Linked DNA regions of Homo sapiens: regions 2, 3, 4, 5 and 6 are each linked to region 1. The links are contacts of gene promoters, found by promoter capture Hi-C in blood cells and fetal thymus (Javierre and others, 2016). All regions are on one chromosome and are shown on one strand. Each heading gives the region's core, a stretch centred on a gene start or on the middle of the fragment in contact. The rest is flanking DNA. Distances are from core to core; before and after follow the strand shown. Region 1 holds the start of PHF10 (PHD finger protein 10). Region 2 has its middle 4.4 kb from the start of PDCD2. Region 3 overlaps TBP (TATA-box binding protein). Region 4 overlaps PSMB1 (proteasome 20S subunit beta 1). Region 5 has its middle 31 kb from the start of PSMB1. Region 6 overlaps LOC105378146 (a long non-coding RNA gene).

Evidence for each region. Contacts are between HindIII fragments. The CHiCAGO score rates a contact against its expected background, and 5 or more counts as called.
Region 2: a contact is called between a fragment that was not itself captured here and the fragment with the promoter of PHF10 in region 1, in 1 of 17 cell types (fetal thymus). The highest score is 5.6, in fetal thymus.
Region 3: a contact is called between a fragment that was not itself captured here and the fragment with the promoter of PHF10 in region 1, in 1 of 17 cell types (total CD4 T cells). The highest score is 5.8, in total CD4 T cells.
Region 4: a fragment that was not itself captured here is called in contact with the fragment with the promoter of PHF10 in region 1 in 8 of 17 cell types (M1 macrophages, naive CD8 T cells, total CD8 T cells and 5 more); the score reaches 10.2 in M1 macrophages.
Region 5: a contact is called between a fragment that was not itself captured here and the fragment with the promoter of PHF10 in region 1, in 2 of 17 cell types (M1 macrophages and erythroblasts). The highest score is 5.8, in M1 macrophages.
Region 6: a contact is called between a fragment that was not itself captured here and the fragment with the promoter of PHF10 in region 1, in 1 of 17 cell types (M0 macrophages). The highest score is 7.3, in M0 macrophages.

Annotation. Positions count from the first base shown.
Region 1 is chr6:169,723,144-169,725,963 of GRCh38, forward strand. PHF10 (PHD finger protein 10) reads right to left here and starts at 1,357. Exons shown (of 12, transcript NM_018288.4): 1 at 702-1,357. The coding sequence starts at 788. It also overlaps a transcript of DYNLT2 not described here. RefSeq lists silencers at 459-838, 939-1,178, 1,249-1,548 and an enhancer at 1,480-2,022. The HindIII fragment of the contact is 1,955 bases long and covers 445-2,399 here.
Region 2 is chr6:170,587,580-170,590,399 of GRCh38, forward strand. No RefSeq gene overlaps it. Among named protein-coding and RNA genes, the nearest start is that of PDCD2, 4.4 kb to the left of the region's middle. The HindIII fragment of the contact is 4,128 bases long and covers 1-2,820 here.
Region 3 is chr6:170,571,050-170,573,869 of GRCh38, forward strand. TBP (TATA-box binding protein) reads left to right here. Exons shown (of 8, transcript NM_003194.5): 7 at 361-455; 8 at 1,137-1,810. The coding sequence ends at 1,216. Among named protein-coding and RNA genes, the nearest start is that of PDCD2, 12 kb to the right of the region's middle. The HindIII fragment of the contact is 1,294 bases long and covers 731-2,024 here.
Region 4 is chr6:170,537,755-170,540,574 of GRCh38, forward strand. The region is part of intron 4 of PSMB1 (proteasome 20S subunit beta 1); the gene reads right to left. Among named protein-coding and RNA genes, the nearest start is that of PSMB1, 14 kb to the right of the region's middle. The HindIII fragment of the contact is 302 bases long and covers 1,183-1,484 here.
Region 5 is chr6:170,520,442-170,523,261 of GRCh38, forward strand. No RefSeq gene overlaps it. Among named protein-coding and RNA genes, the nearest start is that of PSMB1, 31 kb to the right of the region's middle. The HindIII fragment of the contact is 3,242 bases long and covers 1-2,820 here.
Region 6 is chr6:168,953,183-168,956,002 of GRCh38, forward strand. LOC105378146 (a long non-coding RNA gene) reads right to left here. Exons shown (of 4, transcript NR_136250.1): 3 at 1-57. Among named protein-coding and RNA genes, the nearest start is that of LINC01615, 210 kb to the right of the region's middle. The HindIII fragment of the contact is 3,316 bases long and covers 1-2,820 here.

The DNA of each region.
Region 1 (2,820 bases), core at 107-2,606:
CCGCCTTCTAATTTCAATCCAATTTCAAGCTTCCAGGCTTTTAAAACATCATTCCTCCCTTCCAACTTTCTGTCACAAACTGCTAGCCTAACTTTAGAACCAAAACGTTTTGATGCGTGACACTACTGCTCATCTCCATTTTCTCCACAAGCACCAATTTCTTTTCACCTCCTCAAGCAGTAAAAAGTTTTAACAGACTTCCGCTGAAAACATCCGGACGCTTGCGTATTAACTTAGTTATTACAGTAAGTTCACTGAGTGTGTTGATTTTCCATATCGTTCGCCACTCGGTTTTTGCAGTAAGCGTTCAAACACTTCGGCAAACTATGCGCGGAATGAACGCTGAGCGAACGCGCGCTTCTGCAGGCCCCTCCGAGGCCAACTCTCTCGGCCCCGGGCGCGTTCCGTCCCACGGCTGGCCTAGGAGGAGGCGTTTTGGGGACAAGCTTGTCAAGCAGGGCCGGCTGCCAACTTCGGGGAAGCCGCGCCGCGTCCCCCGCCCGCCCGCACTTGTTGCTCGCTAGAGGCCGCGGGCTCACCTCGGGGCCCCGCCTCGCCGACCACCCCCGGTCTCAGGCGCGGCGCCCGGCCTGGGCCCACGCCCCCGAGACGCTGGGCGGCCGCCGGTGGGACTGGGCCCACGCCCCGGCACCCAGGCCCGGGACGGGGTCAGGGTCGGGTCGCACCGGCCGCTTCCTCACCTTCGGGGACTGCGCTCCGGGGGTGGCTGGGTCGCTGTCGCACGGCCGCGGGGACAGCGCAGCCCCGGGCCCGGCCGCCGCCGCCATCAGCCCGAGCGCCCCGCGCCGCCGCCGCCGCCGTCGCCTCCGCCTTGTCCCGGCCGCCGCCGCCGCTGCCGCCGCCGCCGCCGCCGCCGCCGCGCGGGCCCCCCGCCGCCCCGGCCCCGCCCCCTCCGCCCGCCCGCCCGGGGGCCGGCCCCTGCCGCCGCGCGCCCCGCGGCCCGCCAGCGCCGCCGCCACCGCCATGGCCGTCGCCAGCGCGCCGCCCGCGCGGGAGGGCGCCAAAGGCTGGGAGGGCGCGGGGCTGCGGGCCGGAATGGAGGAGGCCCAGCGGCGGCGGCGCTTCTCACGTCAGCCCAACCCGCCCGGCCGCGGCCACCGCCTCAGCACCGTTGCCCCCCACAGCTCCGCCGCTGGCCTCAGCGCCGCCGCGACTCCCTTCAGCCCCGCCACTCGCTCGCCTCAGCCCCGCCGCTCGCTCGCCTCAGCCCCGCGGCCGCCTCAGCCCCGCCGCTCGCCTCAGCCCCGCCGCTCGCCTCAGCCCCGCCGCTCCCCTCAGCCCCGCGGCCGCCTCAGCCCCGCCGCCGCCTGGCTCCCCACGGCCCGGCGTTGTACTCGGCCGCGGCTCCCCCCAGCCCCCGGCGCGCCCCACCTCCCGCCCGCCCTCCGGCCCGCCCCGGCCCGGCACGTCGCCACTTGGCGCGCTCGCAGCCGCCCCCTCCCCGCGGCCCCCGGCCCGGCCCCTCCGCGCGTCACCCTCGTTCCCTCCCTCTCTCCGCGCCCCCGCCGCGCCCCTCCCCGCCCCTCCCGGGGGTCCCCGCCCCGCCCCCTCTCTGCCGGGGGTCGCCCTGCCCGGAGCAGTCGCGCGGAGACTGCGCGGCCTCCGCCTCTACGCGCTCGCGGTCGCCGCTCCTCTCCCGCCTTTGTTCTCGGGTCGCCCCTCTCGCTGGTGGCGCTCCGAGAGAGCAGCGGAGCCACCTGCCCAGGCCACGCTTCCCCGAGCATCCGCAGCTGCACCCGGGGGCTGTCGGCGCCCGCCCCGGAGCGTGCGGGAGGCACAGCGGGAAGAAGTCGCTGAGATTCGGCCCTCGTGGCTTTGCGTGCCCGCGTGGTTGATGCCTCCGCCGAGAACGCGGTCGGCCGGGAGCCGGGGAGGAGCGTGGACGCCGGCCTGGCAGGTACCCCCGCGAGAACGTGGGAGCCGGTGTATTTCAGCTGCATTTATTACTGATCTCGGGCTGCACCAGGGCACTTGTAGGACCGCACTAAAAACAGCGGAAAGTGAGGAGCCAAGCCTGGGTCCGGGGCGGCCCGCCGTACAGCTGGCCTCACGGATTCCACTGCCTGCGCCTGCAGATGACTTGTTCTGGAGAGTAGAGAATGTTCTCGGATTTAAAGTACAATCCGGTTTCCTTTCCATTCATTATAGTTGCCTACACTCAACAAACAAAAGTTGGGAAAGATAAAGGGATTATTCTAGCGCGTCACATTGACAAACACCGACGTTAACACGCTCAGTCCAGCCTGACTCACTTGCCTCAGGTCAGAGAGGTCACCACTGACGACGCCGGGCCCTCAAGCCGATCCTAATCCAGCTTGGTTCTCTCAGCCTCAGCCAGACCATCCGTTCTTGCCTCTGTCCCACCACGTGCAGGTGTAAGCTTCCGCCGCACTTCTTGTCTGAATCTGCCAAGAAGAAACTGCATCTTTCAGCTAAATTCTTTTCACTGATCAGGGTAGAGTTTAGCGGTTTTTTTTTTAAGAAAAAAAACAAAAACAAAAAAAAACTCTTAAGCTATTTGGTACTCCTCTCCCTCCGGGATTCTGTCTCTAGATTGTGAAAGCTGTCAGAGAATGGAGTCAGGGAAAGCCGTGATGGGAAAGTTCTCACTAATAATTGCCTGATATAAAGAATTAGCACAAAAGACTGCCAAAACCACAACCTTGCACAAAGGCCACAAAACTACACAAAAAAATGCTTCAAGGACATTTGCGCAGCAACTGCCTGTCCAACCTTGGACTGGCCATCCCCTTTGTTACTGATCTTTGTAGCCAAGGATAATTGTTTCAAAACAACTTA
Region 2 (2,820 bases), core at 231-2,730, 860 kb after region 1:
TACATTTTAGGGAGATATAAGACATCAATCAACATATGTAAAATGAATATTGGTCAGGAAAGGTGGGACAACTCAAAGAAAAAATGGGACAACTCGAAGTGGGGAGGGGCTTCCAGGTCACAGGTAGGTGAGAGACAAATGGTTGCACTCTTTTGAGTTTCTGATTCACCTTTCTAAAAGAGGCAGTCAGACATGCATTTATCTCAGTGAGCAGAGGGATGACTGAATGGAATGGGAAGCAGGTTTGCCCTAAGCAGTTCCCAGCTTGACTTTTCCCATTAGCTTAGTGATTATGGGATTCCAAGGTAATTTCCTTTCACATTTCCCCCCTTTTCTTTTTTAAAATATTTTGGAGAAAGCATTTTTGAAGAAAATAAGTTTCTGTTCCCAGGTTTTATCTGCTCTCTCATGGCTAGGATGGTTTTTTCCTAGAAGGGTAGGTCCTGAGTTATTAGGAAAGCTCATTTTTAGAAGGTTGTGAAGTCTAATATCCTATCAAGAGAAAATTTGGGGAGGAAGGGAGAACAATAAGAACAATCTTGGAAAATTGATCTAGGCCACATTACTCTGAAGTCCATACATCAGTAAGCAGGTATGAAAGTGGCTTATGTATGTAAATAGGTTCCCATTATTTTCTTCTGAAGTTTAAGTTGTCTACTTCAGTTCACAGGGCTTCACGAAAGTTAGTTTTAAGTGACTTAGTTTAGTGACAGCTTAGTTTTAAGTGACTCCAAATTAGGAAAAATGGGGAAAAAAAGAAGGAAAAAAATTGAAAACATTATTTTGAAGACTTGTAGCCCACAAAAATTAGAATTTGGTCCAAACTGTAGAAAATGATAAAAATTGAAAAACATTAGGCAAGACTAGAATCTAACAACTGGTGGACTATAGTTTTCCAGTCTCTAGTTTCCCATTTATACTAAAGACAAATCATGATAGGTTTGCCTTATTATATTTGGCCGAATTATTTGTATACAGTGCAGCAAGAATAATTATTTTTTAACATTGGCTTTTAAATTGGCTTTGATGGAACTTTGTTCCATAGAGGGTATTTCAGATAAGACTTTTTAAAAGCTGAGCCCAGCCATGGATTTGTGCCATCAAATACCTGTGAGTTTGGTGATCCTCTCCTCTTGAGGTTCCAAGATAAACTTGAGGCTCCTGGGCCTGTCAGAAAGTGACATTCTTTACTTACCACAGGTCAGGAACCCTGTACAGGAGCTGTGTAGACAAAGTTATGAGGACGGTTTTTCCAAGGGGGTTTAATTGGCTCCGTAAGTCAAGTAAAAGCATTGGTAAACAACCAGTTTCCCCAATTGTGTCCTGTTACAAATGAAAACAGATTATTAGTGCACTTATGCAAATAACTGTATTGTCATAAGTTAAGAATACTTACAGTTTCCAAATTCTGGAGAAATCGGGTAGAGAGAACCAAATGTGCTCCAAATTTTGTTCATAGGAGTATGTGTTACTCAATTGTTAAAAGCTGCAGATAGCCTGACCAACATGGTGAAACCCTGTCTCTACTAAAAATACAAAAAATAGCCAGGCATGGTGGTGCGCACCTGTACTCCCAGCTACTTGGGAGGCTGAGGCAGGAGAATCACTTGAACTTGGGAGGTGGAGGTTGCAGTGAGCCGAGATCGCACCGCTGCACTCCAGCCTGGGCAACAGAGCAAGACTCCATCTCCAAAAAAAATTATCTTGTTTTTATCAATCTTTCTTAAATGTATAGCTCACATTTATTTCAATGTTTAAAATGAGAAATATTTGGGGTCTTTATTTAGACGTTTGTTGATGTTTTTGTGACCAGAAATATGTTACAAGAACTTAACTCTTGTTTATATCAATCATCCCATGGCAAATTGGTTTTATTACCAGTAGTGTTGCTTAAAGTCACAGTTTCCAAGAATCTATCCATGATAAATGAGGACTTACTGGACTTAATAGTACTGAATTGTACACATAAAAATGGTTAAGATGATAAATTTTATGTTATGTGTATTTTACCACAATTTTTAAAAATGAAAAAAAGAAATCCTGGGGAATGATATGTTCAAAGAAGGCTTTGAAAAGCTCTGATATATTCCAGAAATCTAGACAGCTACACAGGGGCAGGGCTTTGTGCGTGGCCATGAAAGACCTGAGGCAGCTGTAATGTTTTACATTTGACTCTGGGGTTCTGTGCCATCAGAAAGTGAAGGCTAAAGCAGACTTGGACTGCCAGAGTGTTGAAGATGTGTCCCAGCACATACAAAGCCACTCTACAAAGGCTGGGAGACATAGGTTCAAGGCATTTAAGGAAATCTCTATCTAATCATTAGCTGACCACTCAGCACACTAAGCAAAGACTGAAAGACACATGACAAAGAATACAGACTTCATAGAATTAGTCAGGGAAAGTCACTAAAAAATTCAACAGCAACAACAACAAAACCCTTGAGAGGGAAGGGTCTGGCTTACAGTTACCACATCCTAGTCTTTAAAATATTCAGTTTTGAGCAAAAATATGAGATACACAAAGAAACAAAAGCCCATGCAGAGGAAATTCTGAGACCAGCTCGATCGGGGAGACCCTAACCCAGTGGCACTAGGGGATATTAAAGACACACACACACAAATATAGAGGTGTGAAGTGGGAAATCAGGGGTCTCACAGCCTTCAGTGCTGAGAGCTCCAAACAGAGATTTACCCACATATTTATTAACAGCAAGCCAGTCATTGGTATTGTTTCTATAGATATTAAGTTAACTAAAAGTATCCCTTATGGGAAACGAAGGGATGTGCCGAATTAAAGGAATAGGTTGGGCTAGTTAACTG
Region 3 (2,820 bases), core at 128-2,627, 850 kb after region 1:
TTAGGACTGTAAAAGTAAAGGATTATTATCTGCATTAGATATCATTATATCTAATGATATAGAGACTGCAGACATAACTACAGGGCTCTTTTTCTTAAATCAGAAAATCCAGATTCAATAGAAATAGGGTAAAGTGATAGGAGGACAAATAGCCTTCCATCCAGTGGTTATCAACTGACGACTACAAGTCGGCCTCACTTGCTTTAATTATTCTATTCTATCCTTTGATGCTGCTTGAAGAACTGTGTTTTACCTCTTGACTAGTTTGTTTATTCAGTATTTTTCCTTGTACAGGTCCTCATTTTATCTAAAAGCACACAAAGCTCTTGATTTCTAAACTTTTTGCAATTTTCCTTCTAGTTATGAGCCAGAGTTATTTCCTGGTTTAATCTACAGAATGATCAAACCCAGAATTGTTCTCCTTATTTTTGTTTCTGGAAAAGTTGTATTAACAGGTAAGTTGTAACAGGAAGTAGTATCTGAAAGTTTGTAAGTGTTTTGAGTATGGCATTTTCTCAGTGCTGAAAAGAAATTTCAGTGTTCGGACAGTGGGCTAGCTTCTTGTACAAAGGCCTCCCACCCAAAGTCTGATGAGAAACGTGCCCACTAAAGGCACAGTGAGAGCAGGGAAGTCTGACCACAGCTCTGCAAGCAGACTTCCATTTACAGTGAGGAGGTGAGCATTGCATTGAACAAAAGATGGCGTTTTCACTTGGAATTAGTTATCTGAAGCTTTAGGATTCCTCAGCAATATGATTATGAGACAAGAAAGGAAGATTCAGAAATGAGTCTAGTTGAAGGCAGCAATTCAGAGAAGAAGATTCAGTTGTTATCATTGCCGTCCTGCTTGGTTTATGGCCTGGTTCAGGACCAAGGAGAGAAGTGTGAATACATGCCTCTTGAGCTATAGAATGAGACGCTGGAGTCACTAAGATGATTTTTTAAAAGTATTGTTTTATAAACAAAAATAAGATTGTGACAAGGGATTCCACTATTAATGTTTTCATGCCTGTGCCTTAATCTGACTGGGTATGGTGAGAATTGTGCTTGCAGCTTTAAGGTAAGAATTTTACCATCTTAATATGTTAAGAAGTGCCATTTCAGTCTCTCATCTCTACTCCAACTTGTCTTCTTAGGTGCTAAAGTCAGAGCAGAAATTTATGAAGCATTTGAAAACATCTACCCTATTCTAAAGGGATTCAGGAAGACGACGTAATGGCTCTCATGTACCCTTGCCTCCCCCACCCCCTTCTTTTTTTTTTTTTAAACAAATCAGTTTGTTTTGGTACCTTTAAATGGTGGTGTTGTGAGAAGATGGATGTTGAGTTGCAGGGTGTGGCACCAGGTGATGCCCTTCTGTAAGTGCCCACCGCGGGATGCCGGGAAGGGGCATTATTTGTGCACTGAGAACACCGCGCAGCGTGACTGTGAGTTGCTCATACCGTGCTGCTATCTGGGCAGCGCTGCCCATTTATTTATATGTAGATTTTAAACACTGCTGTTGACAAGTTGGTTTGAGGGAGAAAACTTTAAGTGTTAAAGCCACCTCTATAATTGATTGGACTTTTTAATTTTAATGTTTTTCCCCATGAACCACAGTTTTTATATTTCTACCAGAAAAGTAAAAATCTTTTTTAAAAGTGTTGTTTTTCTAATTTATAACTCCTAGGGGTTATTTCTGTGCCAGACACATTCCACCTCTCCAGTATTGCAGGACAGAATATATGTGTTAATGAAAATGAATGGCTGTACATATTTTTTTCTTTCTTCAGAGTACTCTGTACAATAAATGCAGTTTATAAAAGTGTTAGATTGTTGTTATACCTTGTAAGAGTCATGTGATCATACTGTTTTCTACAAAGTTGTATTTTAGATATAATGCCTGAAACCATTTTGGTGTTTGCTTCAGTCAGTATTTCATTGTATGCTGCAATGAAAACAGATTAATGATCTGAGAACCTTCCATATATTGAGCAACTCCTGTTTTCTAGGTATTTTGCATACAATGCCTGGAATCCTCACAAAGCTTCAGTTACGTTTTGTTCCTCTGTTGGAGGTGAGGAGATAAGGAAGCCCCAGCTGAGGGACTTGGCTGAGGTTACACAGCTAGTAAGTGGTAAAAATGAGTGAGTCCTTCAGGTGTAGAAGCTGGTGCCCTATCCACAGGCTGCCAACTCTCTGCAGTAACTTTTTTTTGCTTGTTTTGCAGTTTTTTTCTCATGGACTATCAGGTGGACATTTGTGGGTTCTTAGGTTTTATTGTTAGAGTGGTTTGTTGTTTTTAATTGTAAAAGTACATCTTCAGCTGACTCAGGAATAAAATCAGAAAGGGGAGGTCCTTCCTTCCTTTCTCTTCTGCCTCTTTCCCCAAGATAACGACCAGATTAGTGGGTATCTTCTAAGCCCTGTTCTGTCTATCTTCTGGGCATGGCATTTGATCCCATTTTTGGAAAAAAGAAATAATACATTCAATTTTATAGCTTTCCCTTTTTTCAGTCAATATATCATAAACCTATTTCCATGATTGGGAATCTAGGATACTCTTCTTAGGTACCTTCACTTACTGAGCTATTCCTGTAATTATGGTCATTTACATGACCTCTAGTTTTTCAATATCATCAACAGCGCTGCAGGGAACATCCTTGTATGTGTATTTTTCGGATGAGTGCAGGTATTCATGTAGTAAACTTTCCTAGAAGAGGAACTAAAGACTATACATTCTGAGTTTTAATCAGTTGATACCAGATTGCAGTCCAAAGAGAACGGTGCATGAAATGCCCTTTTCTTGCATTTTCCAATCATTAGTGATGCCAATAATGT
Region 4 (2,820 bases), core at 84-2,583, 810 kb after region 1:
CACAAAAATAATCCAAGCCATGGTAGTAGGTAAGGACCCGTAAGAGAGTAGGGAGAACACAGAGAGAGATGGTGAGGTTTCTGTAGGACACATCAGCCAAACTCAAACAGTCATTTGTAAGAAAGTCTTTATTTCTTGGCTCTCCTAAGCTAACGAAGAGGAGAACTTGAAGGAAAGCACGACTTATGTATATAGACAGGTCCAAGGGACACATCCGCAAGACACAGTAAAACGAAGAGAATTCTGTAACCTGTAAAATACGATACTGCTTTTGTTTAAAAGAATAAGAAAACTATTTGTACAAGCACAAAAAAGTCTGGAAAGATAAGTAACTGTGGCTGGTCATCTTTGAGCTCTGAATTAGAGGCAAGAAAAGAAGGGAATTAATTCATGTGCTTCTATCTTATTTGAGTTTGTTACAAAGAACACAGGTGATTCTACAATCGTTAAAAAGGCCTGTTAAAAACAACCGTGTTCTGGGTATGAGAAATCACGAGTCATTTACAAGGTATGATTTTTTAAAAACATAACTGATTTAGAAAACACATTATATACCAGAACTCAGTACCCTGGGAGATGTGATATAGGGACAATCTCCTTACTAACCATGTACAACTGCCACTGTTAGCTTTGTATGTTTTCTACTATAGAACTGCGTAAACTTGGCCAGGCGCGGTGGCTCACGCCTGTAATCCCAGCACTCTGGGAGGCTGAGGTGGGCCGATCACGAGGTCAGGAGTTCGAGATCAGCCTGGCCAACACAGTGAAACCCCATCTCTACTAAAAATACAAAAATTAGCTGAGCATGGTGGCACGTGCCTCTATTCCCAACTACTTGGGAGGCTGAGGCAGGAGAATCGCTTGAACCCAGGAGGCGGAGGTTGTGGTGAGCCGAGATCATGCCACTGCACTCCAGCCTGGGCAACAGAGCGAGACTTGGTCTCAAAAAAAGAAAAAGGATTGTGTAAACTGAATTCTCTGGTGGAGAAGGCACCATCTGAGGTCACCTAAGAAACTGGGAAGTATTTTTGCTGGAAGCAAGCTTGGGACAAGACATGAGATCACAGCAGGCAATCCACTAACCTCAATATACAAAAAAAGAAAGAGATGTAAGGTGTAAAGGCAGAAAAATGATTGTATCTCTCATGAGGATGACAGGCCACAAGTAAACTGAGGCCCAAAAGCTTTACCCAAGGATGGAACCAATCTCAGAAAACCACACACAACAAATTTAAAAAAATAAACCAAAGAAAGGGTGGGCTATGTCCAAGAACACAGCTTTAAAGACCCCCTAGAAGAAGCAAGAGAGACACTAGTAAAATCAGTATAAAACAGCAAAAATCAATAAATAAAAACAAAAATAAATGTAGAATGGCATGAATCTTGATTACAAAGTGCTTTTCCTCATCAAAGTAAAATCCAAAAAGCACAATCATTTCAATGTAAAAAATAAAATCAGACAAGTCTTAAAAGAAATACAGCTAAGCTTTGGATGGGAGAAGTTTTTCTAACAAGGCAAGAAACTGAATGTCATAAAGAAATGATTGACAGATTAGACTGTATGAAACACAGCAATTTCTGTGTAGCAAAAGGCACCACCCAAAAGAGACAAATAACACTCTTGGGAGTATCTATAATATCACAGACATTTGACACAGTCGAATGTAGTTCTTGAAAATCAGTAAGAAGAAAACTAACCTGCAAATAAGGAAATGGGCAACAGTTAATATATGAATCAGTCTCCAAAGAGGAAATTTATAAAGTCAATAAACATATGAAAACATGCCCAAGAATATATATAAATGAAAATAATAAACTGTTCAATAGGCAAAAAGATGTTTCAAAATGTGTTAATTCTAATACTGGGAAGGTTATATAAAATCGGGTACTCAGGGTACTGGCGTATCCTTCAGAAAGAGTATACTCAACAAAATACAAAAAAAAATTTATCTGACCCAATACTTCAACTACTCGAAGTTTATTCTAGCAAGACAAGCATAATTGGGGAAGTACACAAAAATGTATGTACAAGGATGTTCATCATAGTGTTTATATTAAGAAAACAGGAAGCCAAAATGCCCTTTAGAGGACTGGTTAGGTAAATGATGCTATGTATTACAGCAGCAAAAACAGAAGACAAAAAAATTTTTTGTTAATTAAATACAAAAATCATTATGCATATAGCTTAGATCTCCTTGATAATACATAATGTATAGTTACAGAAAAACAGATACCAAAGTCCTACTTACATAAAACTGCATGAGTGTATGTATAAACATGTACTGATTGTTTTCACTACAGAAAAACTAAAGCCACTTTTAATTTGGGAGAAAAATTTTTAAAAGGCATGAGAGCAGCTAAGAGATTAAAGACAGAGAGGTTAGTGCAGACAGCGGTTGACACCAAGGGAAAGAGCTGTGGACCTTGCTGTCCTGAAGGTTTCAATATGGAGCACTGCTCTCCAGGTCCCTGCATCCACCAACACAGAAGACAGTAAAGGAAGTCTCCTGAGACATTAGCAGAGGCTCTGGACTTAGGGGACCAGGCTCTAGAGTGGCAAAGGGTAGGAGCAAAACACATGAAATGGAAAGTTGATGTAAACAAAACACAGACCTTCAGCCCCCTTCCTCCTCTGAGGCCTAAAAAGCTGCCAACCGGGCTTCTCTTCCTGTAGTCCCACCTCACCTCAGGAAAAAAGATTAAAGAAATTCTTCATCTGAAGAAAATGCTGCTTACTTAAGCACCCAGTTAACGGCTGTCAGTTGACAAGCCATGTCAACAAGGACTTTCATAATCAAATTTTGGTACAAGACTCTTCAA
Region 5 (2,820 bases), core at 194-2,693, 800 kb after region 1:
ACTCTCACCACTCCTATTCAGCATAGTACTGGAAGTGGTAGCCAAAGCTGTCAGGCAAGAGAAAAAAATAAAAGACATACAAATAGGAAAAAAAGAAGTCAAATTATCTCTCTTAGCAGATGATATGTTTCTATACCTAGAAAACCCTAAATACTCCACCAAAAGGCTCCTAGAATTGATAAACAATTTCAGTAAGGTTGTAGAATACAAAGTCAATGTATAAAAATCAGTAGCATTTTTATACACCAATAACATTCAAGCTGAGAACCAAATCAAGAACATGATCTCATTTACAACAGCCACAAAGAAAATAAAATACCTAGGAATACATCTAACTAGGAGGTGAAAGATCTCTACAAGAAGAACTACAAAACACTGCTGAAAGGAATCATAGATGATACAAACAAATGGAAAAACATTCCCTACCCATGGACTGGAAGAATCAGTATCATTAATCTGGCCATACTGCCCAAAGTAATCTACAGATTCAATGCTATTCCTATCAAACTACCAATGTCATTTTTCAAATAACTAGAAAAAACTACTGTAAGATTCATATGGAACAAAAAAAAATCCAAATAGCCAAAGCAATATTAAGCAAGAAGAACACAGCCAGAGGCATCACATTATCCGACTTCAAACTATACTATAATACTACAGTAGCCAAAATAACTTGGCACTGGTACAAAAACAGACACATAGACTAATGGAACAGAATACAGAACCCAGAAATAAAGCCACACACCTACAGCCATCTGATCTTCAACAAAGTCAACAAAAATAAGCAATGGGGAAAGGGCTCTCTAAACAATAAATGGTGCTGGGTTCGCTGTCTAGTCATACACAGAAGAATGAAACTGGATTCCTACCTTTCACCGTATACAAAAATTAGTTCATGTGGATTAAAGATTTAAATGTAAGACCTCAAACTGTTAAGAATCCTAGAAGAAAACCTAGGAAAAACCATTCTAGACATTAGCCTTAGGAAAGAACTTGTAATTCAGTCCTCAAAAGCAATTTCAACAAAAACAAAAATTGACAAGTGGGACATAATTAAAGGGCTTCTGCACAGCAAAAGAAACTATCAACAGAGTAAACAGACAACCTACGGAATGGGAGAAAATATTCAAAAAACACACATCTGACAAAGGTCTAATATCCAGAACCTACAAGGAACTTAAACAAATGAACAAGCAAAAAACAACCCCATTAAAAAATGGGCAAAAGACATGAAAAGACGCTCCTCAAAAGAAGACAGACATGCAGCCAACAAACGCAAAAAAATGCTCCATATCACTAATCATCAGAGAAATGCAAATCAAAACCACAATGAGATACCATCTCACACCAGTCAAAATGGCTATTACTAAACAGTCAAAAAACAACAGATGCTGTGATGCTGTGGAGAAAAAGGAATAATTATACACTGTTGGTGGGAAGGTTAATTAGTTCAGCCACTATAGAAAGCAGTTTGAAGAGTTCTTGAAAAAGTTAAAACAGCACTACAATTTGGCCCAGCAATCCCACTACTGGGTATATATCCAAATGAAAACAATTCATTCTACCAAAAAGACACATGCACTGGGCACAGTGGCCCACGCCTGTAATCCCAGCACGTTGGGAGGCCGAAGTTGGAGGATGACCTGAGGTTGGGAGTTTGAGACCAGCCTGACCAACATGGAGAAACCTTGTCTCTACTAAAAATACAAAATTAGCCAGGTGTGGTAGCGCATGCTTGTAATCCCAGCTACTCAGGAGGCTGAGGCAGAAGAATTGCTTGAACCCAGGAGGCAGAGTTTGCACATCATTGCACTCCAGCCTGGGCAACAAGAGCGAAACTCTGTCTCAAAAAGAAAAAAAGACATGCACACACACATTCATCACAGCACTACTGACAATAGCAAAGACATGGAATCAACCTAGGTGCCTATCAACAGTGGATTAGATAAAGAAAATGTGGTACATATACACTATGGAATACTATGCAGTCATAAGAAATGGAAATGGACAGAGAAAAAGAAGGCGGGGGACGGGATCAGAGGCAGCTTCACAGAGAGGCACACTTGAGTCAAAACTTGACTCACGTTTGAAAGATGAATGTGAGTTTCCAGGCATATGGGAGCTAGGGGTGCATGGAGGGGTTGTGGGTCCCCGCTGGGAAAATAGCCTGTAAGGCATAACAGGAATAACTGTGATTCACTGAGGACGTACTGTGTTAGGCACTGGAACAAGAGCTTTACAAACATTATCTCATGTACTCTTCACTGGGTGCCTATGAGGAAGGTACTATCATCCACATTTCATAAGTGAGGGAGCAAGGCCTACGGACTTCCACTAACTGCCTGAGGCCACACAGACAGGAAGAGATGGGGTAGGCCTGATTCTCTGTCTTTTGGATTCCAGAGCCTACAACCACTTCAGTATCTTTGGGCAACGATAAGCAACTTGCTGTTGCCAGAAAAGTGAGGGTCAGAGACCCTTAAAAGTGAGGGGAGGTGACCAGCCTCTGACAGTACACGTAGCAGAGGAGCTTGGCTGCCTCCCGTAGGCTGTGGTGGAGCACAGCGGCCTGAGTAGCATGGGGAGAAGCCTAACCTGCCTTTCCATTGCTCACTCTGGCAGCCTGTGAGTGCGCAGCCCCGGACAGGAGCCCATCCCAGGGACTGGCTGCACAGCTGTTCTGCAAAAGTAAAGAAACCACGTCTCCTCAGTCCTTACACCTGACTTCTTGTAAATGTCCAGTTCTTGTTAGGTTTTCTAACATATCGCCCCTGGACTCCTGTTCTAACCTGATGTCTTATAAACATTCAGGGCTCCTTG
Region 6 (2,820 bases), core at 161-2,660, 770 kb before region 1:
ACTCTTCTCTGACTTGAAATGTCTTTATTTCATCTTATGTTTAATGAGGTATGATTGCTGTAAAATAAGTTGCATATATTGATGAATACTGATACAGTGACATATTGATTTCCCATGAAAACATGTGTTTCTGTAAGCAAAAGGCTTCCTCATGTTCCTTGGTGTCCATTCCTCCCTCTGTTCCTGTCCTGAGGCAACTGTCAGTTTGATTTCTGCCACTGTAAAATGGTTTTCATTTTCCAGAATTTCATGTAAATGGAGTCTTGCAGTGCATGCTCTTTCTTACTTTTAACCTGGCTGCTTTAATTTCACCTGACAATTTTGGGTGCATCGTCCACTCATTGCGTCCCCCAGTAGTTTGTTCCTTTTTATGGCTGAGTCGTTGCCCGTTGCATGAGCACAGCACAATTTATCTACCCATTTACCTGCTAATAGACATTTATATTATTTTCTATATTATTTAATATATATATTTAATATATTATTTAATATATTATTTTTATATTAAAAATAAAAAATGATATGAGCATTTGTATCCAAAAATTTGGGTCTCAAATGTATTAATTCTAGGAGTAGAATATCTGAGTCATATGGTAGGTGAATGTTTAATGTTTTATAAATTGACCACACTGTTTTCCAAAACGGTTTACATTCTCAGCCGAAGTGTATAAGAGTTGAAATTGCTCTGCATCCTCACCAGCGTTTGCTATGGTCATACTTTTAAATATTAGATATTCTCACACGAGTGCAATGGTATTGCTCTTATGGTTTTAACCTCCTTTTCCCTAAAGACTAGTACTGTTGAGCATCTTTTCCGTTGCTGATTTGCCATTTGTGCATCTTTTCTTCTTGTTGTTGTTGTTGTTGAAATATCCATTAAAATATTTGTCCAACTCAGTCCACAAATGTACTGAGTTGTTTGTTTTCTTACCATTGTGTTATAAATTATTTATATATTCAGAACAAAAGCTCTTTTTCAGATATTTATTTTGCAAATACTTCCTTTCAGTCTATTAAATAATTTTAATGATGTCTTTTGAAGAATAAAAGATTATAATTTTCATTTTTTTAAATTTATAATGTATAATTTCTTGTGTCCTCTTTAAGAAAACTTTGCCAAACAGAAGATCACTAATCTTATGTCCTATTTTTATTCCATAAATGCTATTAACTAATTATTATTGGCATTTATAGAAAATTCCTCCAGACAGCAGCAAAGTATATCTTTAAATTGAAATATTTCCCAAGATAGCTGATAGTCTGTGCCATAGACTAAACCTTAAACATGAAAAAAGAGTAGAAAACAAGCAAAGTATGTTCTGAAACCATAATGAAATTAACTGAAAATAAACAAAAATATATCTGGAAAATCTCTGAATATATGGCAAATAAACAACACACTTCTAAATGAATGATGGGTCAAAACTGAAGTCTTACACTAAACTAAAAATATTTTGAATCAAAAATTAAAATACAATATATCAAAATTATCAGGATGCAGCTAAGCAGTGCTTTGAGGGAAATGTAGAGTACTAAGTGCTTGTAATAGAAATCAGGAAACACCTAAAATCAGTAATATTACAAACATCTCTATGCCCAAAAGGAAACAACTTACATGAAAATTAAAAATGTTTCTACCTGTAATAATGAACATTTGGAATTTGAATTTTAAAAAAAATGTCATTTGCACAACATGGCTGGGCCTGGAGGACATGATTCTATGTGAAATAACCCAGACACAGAAAGAAAACAATTGAATGATCTCACTTATATGTGAGATATTTTTTTAAAAACCCTCAAACACACAGAGACAGAGTGTGTAACAGTGTTTCCATGGGTGGGGGTTGCAAGAGGACATGGGGGGATGTAGGTCAAAGGGATCAAAATATCATAGAAGGTAGGTGGGACAACAGTTCCGGAGACTGGATGCACAACGTGAGGGCCAAACTTCATAAAATTATACCATGTTAAGGATTTTTGTTAAATAAGTAGATTTTAGCTGCCTTTGTCACAAAAAATATGTGAGATAATAGATATGTTAATCTGTTTCACCACTGTAACCATTTTACCATCTATATTTCATAGCATCATGTTGTAAACCTCAAATATACACAATACTATTTAAAAGGCACTAAATCGTACTAAAATAAATGAAGCATTAGGTATAAATATAACAAAATAGGTGCAGCGTCTGTATGCTGAAAACTACAAAACACTGATGAAAGAAGGAAGAAATATCTAAGTAAATGAAGAAATATGCAGTTTCATGGATTTGAGGCTTAATATTTCAAAGATGTCCATTCTCCCATTTTCCCTGATTTGAGCAATGCAATCTCAATAAAATTCCAGCAAGTCTACTTTGTAAATAACAACAAGCTGAATCAAAATTCATGTAGAAAGGCAAAGAAACTATAATAATCACAAAAATTCTGCAAGAAAAACAAAACAAAATTCTGGAAAATGAACAAAACAACAAAAGTAAAGTACTCACATAACTTGATTTTAAGACACTATAACGTGACAGTAAACAATAAAATGTGGCATTGGCACTGGGATAGGCAATCAATGGAACAAAAGTAAGAATAGAGAAATTGACTCAGACATATATTGACAAGTGACTTTTGGCATAGGTACAAGTCATGTTAGGAAAGAAAGAGAATCCTTTCAGTTAATTGTGTTGGAACATTTGATATGCAAATGTCCCAAATAGGACCAATATATACCTTTTCCATATACAAACATTAATTCATAGTGGATTATAGATTTGAATGTAAAATGCAAAACCATACAACTTCTAGAAAAAAAACATAACAGAAAAGC